Regions from separate parts of the Homo sapiens genome. Here all the other regions are linked to region 2. Evidence: promoter capture Hi-C in 16 types of primary human blood cells and fetal thymus (Javierre and others, 2016). All regions are on one chromosome and are shown on one strand. The core of a region is centred on a gene start or on the middle of the fragment in contact, and the rest is flanking DNA. Distances in the headings are between cores, read along the strand shown.

Region 1 (4,715 bases), core at 747-3,246, 2.7 Mb before region 2:
TCCAACAATTCTCCTGCCTCAGCCTCCCGAGTAGCTGGGATCACAGGCATGCGCCACCACACCAGGCTGATTTTGTATTTTTGGTAGAGACAGGGTTTCTCCATGTTGGTCAGGCTGGTCTCGAACTCTGGTGGGCAGTGCAGTAGGTGGGAAAATATACTGGACTAGGAGTCATAAGTGGGTTCTAGTTTTAACCTGGCCACTAACTAGTTACATGGCCTCAGGGAAAACACTTTTAATGAGAGAGATAAGCTTACTCACTTCTAAAATCTCTTCCAGCTAAACAAATTTAGAAGTGCACAAGTAAGAAATTAACATACAGATATTTCTCTAGATTACTTCTGTAATTCAACCACAATGCACTGAAATTCTTGACACCCTTTTTTCTCTTCATATGCCTTCAAAATTGACAATGGCATCTGCTGTTCATTCTTCTTTCCTCCCTAGCACATCATGTGCTTATAATACATTTTGTATATAAAGATGACACTAGTGATCCAAAATTAGTGGGTGACTAATGATGGACCCATCAACTCTCATTCTGTCCTCCTAAAAAATGTCTTGTAGTTCCCCAGTGACTTAGCTGGCCAAAGTACAGACAGTGGTTATGAAACAGCATTTTTCTCTGTGTGAAGCCAACTAACCCTGTTAGCTGGACATAAGATTGATAATGTCACGCTTACTGGTAAGCAATTTAACTCATTCTCATTAACATCTAGCAAAATAAGTTGAGAGGAAAACTACTATTAAATCTGTTACACTCTTGGGAACCCCATTTTGCAAGAAGGCGGCAGACACTTATGATCCATTGAATATATTAGTGTTTAGTCTGTGATTCTGAAATATACTTCCAAAACACACACGGATTCGGAGAAAAAAACAGGACAAGGTGATGCGAGTATGTAAGTATCCCCTAAGATAGGTCCCTGAAAAATCCTTAATAGTATATCACATTTGGATACGTTTCAGTCGCAGGAAGGCAGGAATGCTGGATTGAAAACACAATACCAGGAACCTAAGAGAAGTCTGAAGGAAAACACAAGTATATGCGTATATATTTTCACTGGAGAATGACGTGAAGCAAAACTAAAAAACAAAACAGTAAGGCAAAGATGGTCACGCGAATGGGAGAGGTGTACGCCAGCGTCAAAAGCGAGATTTAAAGAATTTACTCAGTTGTCAACATCGGTGAAAATCGCATGTGAAATCTTTGTCAGGACTCAGTGTGATGCTGAACTACAATCATTCACTGTTCCTAGCAACTGTGCACAAGTATGCTAGAGCCTTTAACAGAATAAAGTGCTTGGGGAAAACCTCTCACAAGAGGACAAAGGGTCAATGTTACAGCATGAGCCGCCCCAAATCTGAGTGCTGTCAGGAAGGGGAGATGGAGGAAGGTATTCCAAGAGTGAACAGGAATCAGCCAAGGCGAAAGAAAACATGTGCGTGGAGGTGGAGGTTGGTAATATATGGCCACCCCGTCTGCCCTCCGAAGATGCCATAAAAGGGGTGGGATGGCATCAGGCGTCAGGTCCCAGGTCCCCGGCCCCTGGCAGTGAGGTGGGCGTAGAAAAAGGCGTAGAAGAGGGTCTGGGAGACGCGGCATTCCAGGGGTTTGGCGACAGCACCACTCCATCCCTCCGCAGAACGCAGGCCCCTTCTCACCTGGGCGCCGCCGCCTGGCAGCTGCGGGCAGCGGGGAGAACTGGGGAACACGTCGAAGTCACTCTCTTCCTCAGCCTCACCCTCGGCCCGAGGGAGGCTCCAGGGTCCCGGAGGCGGCCACGGTTGTTCCATGTCCGGCTGCTCCGGGTCCTACAACCGCCCTTGGCCCTACAACTGCCACTGCCAACAGACTTGGCGTGAATGGAACCTGCTGCGCCGAGCCAGAAGCCCAGCCGGGGGTCCGGGCCGTTACCCAGAATCCCTCTACTGGCCGCGACGCCGCTGCACACCCGGCGACAGCCTGGGCCTCGCCACCGGCGGACGGCGGAAGAAATAGTCGGCGCGGTGCGTCACTTCCGGTTGGGGCGGGGCTGTGGAGGCGCGTCCCGGGCCCTTTGCGTGTAGTGGGTGGATCTGCAATTGTATTCCTGTTTCAAGCCCCGTTTTCTTGCAGCTCTTCGGCACTGCAAACCTAACCGCTAATGGCGCTGTGGGTGGAGAAACGTTTGTTAGGTAGCGTTATATATTGTTATCTGGTGTTCCCTATACCGAAAACGGCGGGTCCTGGCCGCCGGGAGGTACTCAGACCAGGTGTGCACTTTACATGTTGCTTAAAAATTGCAACTCATTCCTTTACATTGACATTTAAACCAGTGATTCTAAGGCAGAGTTGGGGCGGAGGGAGGAGAATTTTGAACAAGCGGAGCCAATTTTCGTCTCATTTCTAATTACAGGCAACAACAGAATTCTGCGAAACTTGGTTGGTTGGAGGAGCACACCAAAAATAAAGTACCGGAGCCGGCACGGCTTCAAAAAAATTAGGATCAGTACCGCTAGTAGCGAACGCATAAGAAGGGCTTCCTGTATGCCTGCGTATCTTGTTTAAGCCTAAAGATATGTACTCTCTTTATCCTCTTTTTTTGAGACGAGGAAGTAGACCCAGCATGCCCGAGATCACACATTTTACAAGGAAGAAGTAGGATCCAGACCCAGGGAGTTTAACTTCAAAACTTGAACGTTTAACAATCAGGTCTTGCTGCCCTACTCATAAAGAGACCCAAATAAAAACAACATGACGCCATTTTTTTCCATGTGTTTAGACTGGCAAACTTGTGAAGTCGCTTAATACCAAATGTGTACCAAGATGTAAGGAAATGATGTGAGAATGTCATTAGTATAACCTTTTAGGAGGAGTAATTTGACAATATGAGAGGCTTGAGCGGATTGATTCAGCAATTTCACCACTAAGAAAGTATGCAACAATTATTTTTGCACCAATATCCAAAGATTTACTACAAAGATTTCTGGCAGCAATTTTTGTGTGTGTGTGGCAAGAAAAAAAAAAGCATTCTAATTGTCCATCGATAGAGGAACTTAAAGTATGGAATATTAATACAATGGCATATTACCCTTTTTAAAAAAAGTAAATTGTATCTGAATATGCTGATATATAAATACCTCCAAAAGGTATTGAGTTTTAAACAAAGCAACTTGCAGAATTAAACATATGCGTACGTATACAGAGAGAGAAGAGAGAGGGATGGTATTTGTTTGCGTCCGTGTGTGTGTGTGTGTGTGTGTGTGTGTGTGTGTGTGTTTGCGCAGAACATTCCTGGAGGATATGCAAGAAACTGTTAATGATTACCTCTGGTGGGTGAGCCTAGGAAGGAAAGCTTCTGAGGATCTTTACTTTCCACATTTAGCTTCCCTGTACTGTGCTGTTTGAATATTTTTCCAATGAATGTATACTATAATTATAGTATTATAACAGTACAAGATTATAACAGTACAAGATTACTATAAAATTAATTACAAATAAAAGCTGAGAATCACTTTTGCACCTAAACCTTTTGAATTTAGGGGTGAAAGTCACAGGAGAGACTGGAAAGGGAGGAAGAAAAGAAAAACATTTTTCTCTTTGCTTCCATGAAGCCACAAAGTGCTTTGAATAGTGCCTGGCATAAAGTAAGCCCTATATAAACGCTAATGCTGTTAGTTTTTCTCCTACCTCTTTCACTACTTCTCCTCAGTCTTCTTCCCTTCTAGCTGACCTCTAACTTTAGAGTTCCTCATATTTTGGCCAGTGAGGAGAATCCTGTTTATTCCTGTGGCTTTAAATAACATCTGTGTATCTATAATTCTCAAATTGAAATCCAAGTCCTGACCTTACCCCTGTGCTCCAGACTCATGTCTACCCGCTGATTTGTCATCTCATTTTAATGGTTCATACACATCTTAAATTTAACACATCCAAACCCTTGATCTCACCGCCTTCCCCAAACTTCTTTGGGTCTTCTCCGTGTCAATCAATGGCATCACCATCCAGTCCAAAACCTAGAGTTCAGCCTTAGTTCCTCCCTCTCCTTTACCTCTCATACCAACAGCAAGTCCTACTGTTTTTACCCCCAAATACATCTTGAATCTATGTTCTTTCCTGCTTTACTGCATACTCCCTAGGCCAGAACACTATGATTGCTTCTCAGAACTACTGCAGTAGTCTTCCATGCTTCTGTTCCATTCTTGCTCCTTACAATCTCTTCATACTGTTGCCAGAGAGATTTTTAAAAAATACATAAATCATATCATGTCTCACCCCTGCTATATCAATTATATGCTTTCAATGCAAATAACTGAAACCTCAGCTAAAAGAAACCTAAACTATAAGGACATTTATTGTGTATGTAACAAAAAGAATGATCCCAGGATAGGCTTAGCAGTTTGAAGATGTCATTAAATATTCAGGTTCAGGCCAGGCGTGGTAGCCTACACCTGTAATCCCAGCACTTTGTGAGGCCAAGGCGGGTGGATCACTTGAGGCCAGGAGTTCGAGACTAGCCTGGCCAACATGGCAAAACCCCGTCTCTACTGAAAATACAAAAATTAGGCAGACCTGGTGGTGCATGCCTGTAATCCCAGCTACCCGGGAGGTGGAGGTTGCAGTGAGCTGAGATCACAGCATTGTACTCCACCTGGGTGACAGAGCGAGACTGTGTCGCAAAAGAAAGAAAGGAAAGGAAGGGAAAGGAAAAGGAGGGGAGGGGAGGGGAGGG
Region 2 (4,383 bases), core at 8-2,507:
CTGTTTGTGACAGTCAGGCAGACAGGATTATCCGGATCATGGCCTCCCGGGCCCGCAGCCGCCGCCGTGGCTCTCCTGGGTCCCGGCGCGCCCCTAGCACCCGGACGATCGCAGGCGCCCCACGCCCGCAGCTCCCGCGGCGCAAGCAAGGGGAAGACGCGAAGCAAAAGAACACGGACCCGGGGAGAGGGAGGGCAGGGTAACGGAGGCTGGCGGGCACCTCCGACCTCCTTGGGGGCCTCCTCCCTTCCCTCCAGCAGTGCGGCCCGGGCCGGACATCCCGAACTTTAACACCCGAGCCTGCGCTGCCGCCAGGTACCAGAGGCAGGGACGTCCGCAGCGCCCGGGGCGCAGCCCCCTGGCAGCCCCTTTGCCTAAAGGCCTGCCTACCAATCAGCCTCCCCATCCACGCCGGAGGAAACGCGGAAAGTGGAGGTGACACCTCCGATCAGGCACGCACCGGCCCCGCGGCAGTGGCCGCTACCTCCTTCGCGCGTCAGCTCAGGCTTCTCCCGCTGCGATCCGCTCACGTCTCCGCAGCCGGAGCCCTTTGAACAAGTCCCTGGGAAGCGGGTGGCAACAGCGTCCGTTGGCGCCCCGCCGCCAGCCTGGGCTCCCCGCCCTCCTTTCCCGTTCCCCTTCCAACTCTTCCGGGGAGGGTTGCCCGGGATGAACAGTAGCGTTTCCATCCTCCTCCCCTGTCCCCCAGGCCTTCCCCCTCCTGCGGCCACCCCCCTCCCCGCCGCCTCACTTTTAAGGGGATGGGGGGATTGCAACCTGGCCCAATGTGTGTGTTGCAACCTTGAGTTGGCAGCGCCTCTGACTGCCCACTCAGGATCAAGGCTGTGGCTTGTTGGGATTTTTTTCCTCCTTTGCCCCCTTGAAGTAGTAATTATTACTGTTATTATTAGAACAGCAAGGTTCGGTTGAAACTTTCTCGTTTCTTCCACCGCCGCCTGGGAGCTGTCGTTAGAGCATTCCACCTGAGGCCCGCGGGGAGGAGGCGGGCTTTTTTTTGTCGCGGCGGTTGGCCCGCCTGTTTGTTTTGGTCTCCTTGCATGCACAATAAATAATAATTAGGATAATAATGGATAATCCCGGGCGAAGGCGGCGTGGTGCCGGAGGGGTCTGAGCGGCGGCTGCAGCGGGGCGGCCGAAGGGAGGGGAAAGAGGAGAAAAGAGTTGTAAGTTATATTTACCTTGCTCGCGAGGAGTGTGCTGGCTGAATCTCTTCCCTCTCTGAGTCACCCAGAGTACAGAAACAGAGGGAGAGAGGACTAGATTATGAATATGACTTCATTGATGACAGCCGTCCCCTCCTCTTCCTAAACTCGGGCTCCGCCCAGCGTCCCACCCTCGCCTCCTCCGCGGGCGCCGGAAGACGCGCCGCAGTTGGCCCCGCGCGCCGCTCCTCCCTGCCCGTCCGGGCGCGGGTTGGCGGGACGCGCCTGTCACTCGCTCAGCTCAGCGACTCCGGGAGCGCGGGGGGAGGAGGGGGCGGTGTGCAAGAATGTGGATCTAGACAGCTCTACTGTATGCGTGGATCCGTGTGTGACTGCAAGGCGCCGGCTCTCGGGCCGCGTTTGTGCCTGGAGCAGAGAAACTGCGCGGGATGCAGAAAGCCCCAAGCCCTGCTGGAGCTGGGCGCCCGCTGTCCCTTCCCTGGCAGTCCTCTTCCTCGGGCGCCGCGGGGCTCCTCCAGGGAGACTGCGGAAGGGGAGGAGGCGAAGCGAAAACGGAGGGCAGCCGTAGTAATAGCGCGTAGTAGTTCGGGGGTATGTGGAGAAGGTGCTGGAATTTAACTGTGCCTCCGCCTGCCAGTGCGAGCCTGCAGAGAGAGAGGGAGGGGACGGGGGACGGGCTCCGAGTGGCACCAAAGCTGTTTGTGGCACAGTGTGGACTGTGGAAAAAACGGGCATTGTCGTGCCGGCTGAAACTTTTTCTCCCCCTTCCCTAAGGCTGTCATTATAAATCTGCCCCCTATTCCAGGTAAAAAAATAAAAAATAGAAAAGGGAGGCGGGCACAAAGAACGTTCCTGCCAAATCTGTCTCTTCCCTGAAGGACTGCAAGCTTCCAAATGCCAACGAGGGAGAAACAGCTGAGAGGCTGAACGCCTTATAAATAAGTAAACCCACCCTAACCTCTCTGTTTACTTCGTGGACTAGGTACAGCACTATAACCTTCCCTCACCTGCCATCTTCGCTAAAATATATACAAAAATATGGAAAAACAAACCCTGGGGGCGGGGCTGGCGGGTTAGGGGGCGGCTGAAGCATGGAATCTGGTTTTGATTTAAAAAGGGGAATAAATCTCTTATTTTCTACAGACCGTAGTCTCTTCCCTCTCACCCCGCATTTGAGACCAATTAAGGCTGCAAATTGTAATTTGCTGGCAAGTCGCGGTTTTGAGACCTCTTTGCTCCAATTTTCCTTGAAATACAGTACTTTGGCCGGACCAATAGGTCGGTGTTTGGTGAGACAATTTTATTTTTAGTTTTATGAAGTGTGAAAGAATGTTAGGAGACTTTAAATCAGGGGCCTATTATTTTAGACTCAGATTAATGTAGATGCTTGACTCTTAAAACTGTTCCTATGCAGTAGTGTTATGAAAAGTATGATTTATCCCTTATTTCGTAATGTAATGGCTTAAATTAGTCATTCAAAGTGCACTGTGACTATCTGGTTGAGGATTCTTCCCCCTAGAGTAAAATCCTATTTTAAGACCATTTTACTGTTGCAAAATTGACTCCATTTGAGCAACTGGGTCTGAAATGCAGTTCTAGGATGCTTAAAACTTCAGGCTGGATAAGTTGAAGACAAGAAGTAATGGAAAGAACGCCAAATACTGCCATGTAGTCATTAAGAAGCAAGAATTCTTTATATCACTGGTCCACTGCTGGCTGAAGCAGAGCCCACTAGGGCAGCATTTTCATGATGGCTGGGAGTGTTGGTGATCACCCACCCTATAGCTTTCTAAGGTCTTGCTACTTGCTTGTTAACTTTAGCTTCATCATTTTCTGTCTATCTTGAAGTGAACCTCAAGACAACGAAAGATAACACAGCTAAGAGAAATAGAATATAGTGTGCCCTGAAGGATCCATTGTAAGAACTTGTTTTTCTGCCTGAGGATATGCCGGTATAACTATTAACTGAGAAATATATAGGGAGAAATTTTAAACAAGACTAGTAGTATAGTAAAAGTGTAACATAAATACTAACTTCTAACTGCCTAATAAGTCGCAACTAATAATATAGCCAGATAACCTACCTGTCTCTAATAAAGAGATTTAACCTAATAGCAATGCTTATTACATTGAGAGTATTAGGTTTTAATTTTTTTGGGGTCTAATTTGTTTCTCTGGCATGCCGGCCTCACATGCCAATTTTCAGAAATTGATAACTTCACTTTTATTCCCTTGTGAATAAATGCCCTTTATCCCCTTAAGATTCTACTTCCACTTGCCATGCAAATCCTCAAAAAAACAAAAACAAAAACAAATCAATTAGTAAGTCCCTGGAGAAAGAAACTGTCCATTCCTTCTGGCATTTTGTCACAGGGAAAGTAAAGAAGAAAACATTCCCTTTGTTATATGTGTATATTCTTCAGCTCATATAAAATTTTGATGTTGTCCTTGGAGGCGTTGGTATCCACGCATTGTATACACACAGCTATGGGAATTAAAATACATCGTTGGGAACAGAGATTAAATATAGATATTGCATCTCCCTCTCCCTTCGCATTGGTCTAAGAAAGCACCACCTTCCCCCATCACCCTTCAAGTTGTTCCTCTAAAAATTCGTCTTGTTTGTAGTTTGTACCCTAGCAGTTACGAATTTTATAAAATAAGGCCTCAACACAGGAGAAATGAAAAGGCAGCGTCATTCACTTGGTACAAAAAGAAGATTGTAGAACATATAGCATGAGTTTCACCTCTGAGGTAAAACGAAATTTAACAATTGAAGTTAAGGAGGAAAATGATGGGTTTTTTTTGTTTTGTTTTGCAGAAAATCATACAAAAGCAAATGTGGTTGGAGGGTAAAAGGACTCCAGGAGGCTGCACAGGGTGCTACGTTCACACGCAGCTTTTCTTTTTGGACTTTGATGAGTCATAATGTGTTCTCTGAACTTGCTTTTCTCTTTCTAGTTTGGTATCAAAAGATAGAAGTCACTTTTTCATGTCTGTATGGCCACATTCACTTGTTATGTAAGTCTGCTTTGGTTACATTCTGTATAGAGTAGATACTGGGTTTAAAACTTGGTATCTGGATACAACACCCTCATAAAGAAAAATTCCATGCACAACGTTAGGAAGCTTCTAGTCCCAACAGACAAACTGTTAATGCTGCCTGAAATGTTGCCTAGCTTCAAACACGAGCAGGTAA
Region 3 (5,012 bases), core at 1,811-4,310, 2.8 Mb before region 2:
GCATGATGGTATGTGCCTGTAGTCCCAGCTACTCGGGAGGCTGAGATGAAAGATTTGCTTACGCCCAGGAAGCTGAGGCAGTAGTGAGCCATGATCGTGTCACTGTACTCAAGCCTGGATGAAAAAGCAAGACCCTATCTCAAAAAAACAAAACAAAACAGTTAATACAAACAATCCTATTAGAAATGGACAAAAGACTTGGAAAGATGTTTCACTTAAGACATCATTAGTCATTTGTAATACGCAAATTAAGACCACCCTGGGGCATCACTACATACCTATCAGAATAAAAGTAGTGACAACACCAAATGCTAGAAAGGATGCAGAGAAACTGAATCCCTCATACACTACAGATAGGAATATAAAATGGTACATCCAGGCCAGTGTGGTGGCTCACGCCTGTAATCCCAGCACTCTGGGAGGCCGAGCCAGGAGGATTACTTGAGGTCAGGAGTTGGAGACCAGCCTGGCCAACACAGTGAAACCCCGTCTCTACCAAAAATATAAAAAATTAGCCAGGTGTGGTGGTGCACACCTGTAATCCCAGCTGCTCTGGAGGCTGAGGCAGGAGAATCACTTGAACCTGGGAGGCGGAGGTTGCAGTGAGCCAAGATCACATCACTGCATTCCAGCCTGGAAGTCAGAGCGAGATTCCATCTCAAAAAAAAAAAAAAAAAATACATCCACACTGGAAAACAGGGCAGCAATATCTTAAAAAACTAAACATGCAACTACCATACAACCCTGCAAGAGCACTCCTGGGCATTTATTCCAGAGAAAGGAAGACTATGTTCACATAAAAAAATAAAAAAACCTGGCTGGGCATGGTGGTGCACACCTGTAATCCCAGCACTTTGGGAGGCTGAGGTGGGTGGATCACCTAAGATCAGGAGTTCGAGACCAGCCTGGCCAACGTGCCGAAACCCCGTCTCTACTAAAAATACAAAAATTATCTGGGCATGGTGGTGGGTGCCTGTAATCCCAGCTACTCGGGAAGCTGAGGTGGGAGAATCGCCTGAACCCGGGAGTGGGAGGGTGCAGTGAGCCAAGATCGTGCCACTGCACTCCAGCCTGGGCAACAGAGCTAGACACCATAAAAAATAAAAATAAAAAAAAAAAGAAAAACCTGTCCACAAATTTTTATAGCAGCCTTATTCGAGATAGCCAAAAACTGGAAACAACCTACATGTTTTTCAACAGGTAAATAAAAAGACTTGTGATCTTTTCATACCATGAAATACTACTCAGCAACAAAAGGGAACAAACTTGATAAAAACATCTTAGATAAATCTCCAGAGAATCATGCTGACTGAAAAAAAGCCAGTCCTTATAGTGACTCTAGATAACCTCAGGCTAATCACACACTCCCATGTGGCAGCAACAACCCATATGAACGTCTGCCATATCAACTTTTGATGATAGTCACCATGCCTACCACGGTGACCATGGGTGACAGGGAATCAGGGTTTGATTCCAGAGTCAGAGTCTGAGAAATGGCTACCACATCCAAGGAAGGTAGCAAGCATGCAAATTACCCACTCCCAACCCAGGGAGGTAGTGACAAAAAATAAAAATACAGGACTCATTCAAGGCCCTTCAAGTTTTTTCTTTTTAAAAATTTTTTTAATTTATAATATAAAATTTAAGAAAACAGAAAAAAGCCAATCCAAAGGTTACATACTATATGATTCCATTTATGGAGCAGTCTTCAAATGACAAAATTACAGAAATTAAAGAACAGATTAGAGACTGACAAGGGTTAAGGAAGAAGTGGGGGAAGGAGGAAACTGAGTGTGGCTACAAAAGAGCAACAGACATGAAGAATCCTTGGAGTGACAGAAATGTTCTGTATCTCACTGTATCAATGTCAATATCCTAGTTCTAACATTGTACCATAGTTTTTCCATATATCACCATTGGGGGAAACTGGATAAAGTACAGACAGGATCTTTCTGCATTATTTATTACAACTGCATGTGAATCTACGATTATCTCAAAATAAAAAGTTTGTTTTCTTAAAAAAGATGGTAGATAGTTCCATCTGAAGTAGCACTTACGGCCAGGCACTGTGGCTCTTGCCTGTAATCTCAGCACTTTGGGACAGTTAGGCAGAAGGCTCACTGGACGCCAGTAGTTTGAGATCACTCTGATCAACATAGTGAGATCCCATCTCTAAGAAAAAGAAGAAAAGAGAAAGAGAGGAAGGAAGGGAGGGAGAAAAAGAGGAAGGAGAGGAAGGGGAGGGAAGGAGAGAAGGAGGGGGAGAGGGATGGGGGAGGGAGAGAGGGGGGAAGGGGGAAAGAAGACAGGGAGGGAGGGAAGGGGAGGGAGAGAGGAAAAGAAAAGAAAAGAAAAGGCAAGGCATTTATACAACAGCTTCCAAACAACACTGTATCTGAAAACTGGTCATTAGGATTCTTGGCATTTGCCTTTAAAAAAAAAAAAAAAAAAAGAAGAAGTCTTATTTTGGGCAGCCAAAAATCATCACTTGGAAGCATACTTTGTCATCAGAGGCACAAAAGGGTATGTTCCTGATTAACAGGACATATTCAATCTACAGTTAGTAGTAAAGTTATCTGTTACGCCCCAAAACCAGTTGTCCATCAAGAATTCTGGGTCCCAAACCAGGCCGAAATAAAATATAGGCACATCCTCCTTTTAAAGGATCCAAGTTAGGAACAGCCAGATTTATTCCCAAAACAATGCACTGGTTTACCAAAACATGTTTTACCTTTCAAAGGACCTCTTTGTGGCATGCTTCCTCAGCACATTTTAAAGGACCCTTTTGATTAAAACTCCACTTAGCTCTTCTTTTTCAGAATCTTATCTGCTTAAGCCATATGGAGCACTCCCCCATGGGACCAAGTAACTCCTCTCAATTTCACAGGGGAAGACACTAAGGCTTAGTTACATGACCTGCTCAGGATCCTGGGTAGTAGCAGTCCTGTCTTCTGACTCCTATGTCACTGCTCTTGTTCAAGTCCATTATTTCTGCTATTCCAACTTTAAACAATTATTCTGGTGGGATTCTCTTCCATTTAGACCTCACATTATACAGAGACTGTTAAACTGAACCCTGCAGGACACAGTCCTCATGAAATCCAGAGATAGAGGCACTTTGGACAGCTGCTTTATAATACTGATGAGGAACACCCAGGTCCATCACGCTGTGAAATGAGAGAGAACAGGTCCTTCAGGCAGGAGCTGGCCACATTCTCTTTCCAGCTCTGTCCCTCACTACACGTTTGTCTTCACCAACTATCTTACCTAACTACGGGTTGGCTTTTTTACCTTGAGTAAAACAGCAGCAACAAGAAAAAATATTTACTTCCTCTTCAATGAAAGGAAGAGTACAATGAGATAAACTTAATTGTTCATGTTCCTCAAAACGGAAGCATAAATTATACATGTGGCTGGACAATTATAATCACCAGCCCGGGACCATCCTTCTTTGGGGTTCAGATTCCTTTCAGTATTTACAACCCCTTTGCAATGGAAGGGGACAGTTTTAAGAGATTCAATGATTTGCCTGAAGTCACAGAGTTTGATCTGTGTCTCATTTGTTTCTAAATCCTTGTGTAGTCTTCTTGGTGTCACATGCTGCTATTCCTAATCATTAGGGATACAGGGAAAAGAAAAGGTTTAATTACTACTGTCAAGTAGGCCAGGGTTTTTCTACATCAGCACTACTGACATTTTGAATGGATAATTCTTTGTTGTGGGAGGCTGTCCTGTAGGATATTTAGCAGCACCCTTGGATTCTAACCACTAGAGGCCAGTAGCATTCCCCTCTGCCAAGCTGTGACAACCAAAAATGTCTCCAAATGCTCCCAAATGTCCCCCACTGAACAAAAGTGCCCCTGGTTGAAAACTACTGTGCTTTACATATAACATAGAAATACGTGGAAACAACCACCTAGGAGAAGAACTTTACAGAAGGCATAATTCTCTTCAAATATCTGAAAAATTTCCATATAGAAGCAGGAACGGATTTGGCATGCCAGGGAGCAGACCTATACCCAGTGGGTTCAAGCTACATAATAATAAAATCAGCTAACATTTATTCTTCCTATGTGCCAGGCACTGTTCAGTACACTTTGAAGTATTATTTCATTTAGTCCTCACAATAACCCTGTGAAGTCAGTAGTACTGGCCCCACTTTACAGGTGAAAAAGTTGAGGCTCAGAAGAGAATAGTTAAAATAATTTGCCCAAGGACCAAGAGCTAATAGCGAAAGGCAGAACTCGTACTCAAACCAAGGTCCAATACTGACCCCAAGCTCTTAATTGCCAAGTATTATGACCATGACAAATTAAGGATTTTACCTCAGTAAAATAAAGAAAATAAAGAACTTTTTGACTTAAAAACTGTTTCTTTCATATGGAGATTTCTCAAAGAACTAAAAATAGAACTACCATATGGCCCAGCAATTCCACTACTGGGTATCTACCCAGAGGAAAAGACATCATTATACAAAAAAGGCACCTGTACTTGTATGTTTATTGCAGCACTATTCACAATACCAAAGTGATGGAACTAACCTAAGTGTCCACCAATGGTTGACTAGATAAAGAAAATGTGGTATATATACACTATGGAATACTACACAGCCATAAAAAAGAATGAAATCAGGCTGGGCATGGTTATTCATGCCTGTAATCCCAGCAATTTGGAAGGCTGAGGCAGGACGACTGCTTGAGTCCAGGAGTTCAAGACCAGCCTCGGCAACATAGACAACACCCCATCTCTACAAAAAAAATTTTAAAAATCAACTAGATGCTGTGGTACACATCTGTAGTTCCAGCTACTCAGGAAGCTAACGTGAGAGGATCACCTGAGCCCAAGAGGTTGAGGCTACAGTGAGCCATGATCACACCACTGCACTCATGACAGAGTGAGACTCTGTCTCAAAAAAAAGAATGAAATAATGTCCTTTGCAACAACATGGAGCTAGAGGCCATTATCCTAAGAGAACTAATTCAGAAACAGAAAATCAAATACTCCATGTTCTT

What was found. Contacts are between HindIII fragments. The CHiCAGO score rates a contact against its expected background, and 5 or more counts as called.
Region 1: the fragment with the promoter of CDC37L1 here is called in contact with the fragment with the promoter of SMARCA2 in region 2 in 2 of 17 cell types (fetal thymus and non-activated CD4 T cells); the score reaches 7.9 in fetal thymus.
Region 3: a contact is called between a fragment that was not itself captured here and the fragment with the promoter of SMARCA2 in region 2, in 1 of 17 cell types (neutrophils). The highest score is 6.2, in neutrophils.

What each region holds. Positions count from the first base shown.
Region 1 is chr9:4,676,850-4,681,564 of GRCh38, reverse strand. CDC37L1 (cell division cycle 37 like 1, HSP90 cochaperone) reads right to left here and starts at 1,996. Exons shown (of 7, transcript NM_017913.4): 1 at 1,666-1,996. The coding sequence starts at 1,797. It overlaps CDC37L1-DT (CDC37L1 divergent transcript), which reads left to right and starts at 2,085. Exons shown (of 2, transcript NR_121598.1): 1 at 2,085-2,178. RefSeq lists an enhancer at 1,773-1,862. The HindIII fragment of the contact is 3,086 bases long and covers 255-3,340 here.
Region 2 is chr9:2,012,221-2,016,603 of GRCh38, reverse strand. SMARCA2 (SWI/SNF related BAF chromatin remodeling complex subunit ATPase 2) reads right to left here and starts at 1,257. Exons shown (of 34, transcript NM_003070.5): 1 at 1,200-1,257. RefSeq lists silencers at 1-67, 1,208-1,547 and enhancers at 255-811, 1,598-1,647, 1,708-1,757, 3,968-4,097. The HindIII fragment of the contact is 4,329 bases long and covers 1-2,073 here.
Region 3 is chr9:4,796,319-4,801,330 of GRCh38, reverse strand. The region is part of intron 1 of RCL1 (RNA terminal phosphate cyclase like 1); the gene reads right to left. Among named protein-coding and RNA genes, the nearest start is that of RCL1, 5.9 kb to the right of the region's middle. RefSeq lists enhancers at 2,964-3,013, 2,748-3,042. The HindIII fragment of the contact is 8,229 bases long and covers 1-5,012 here.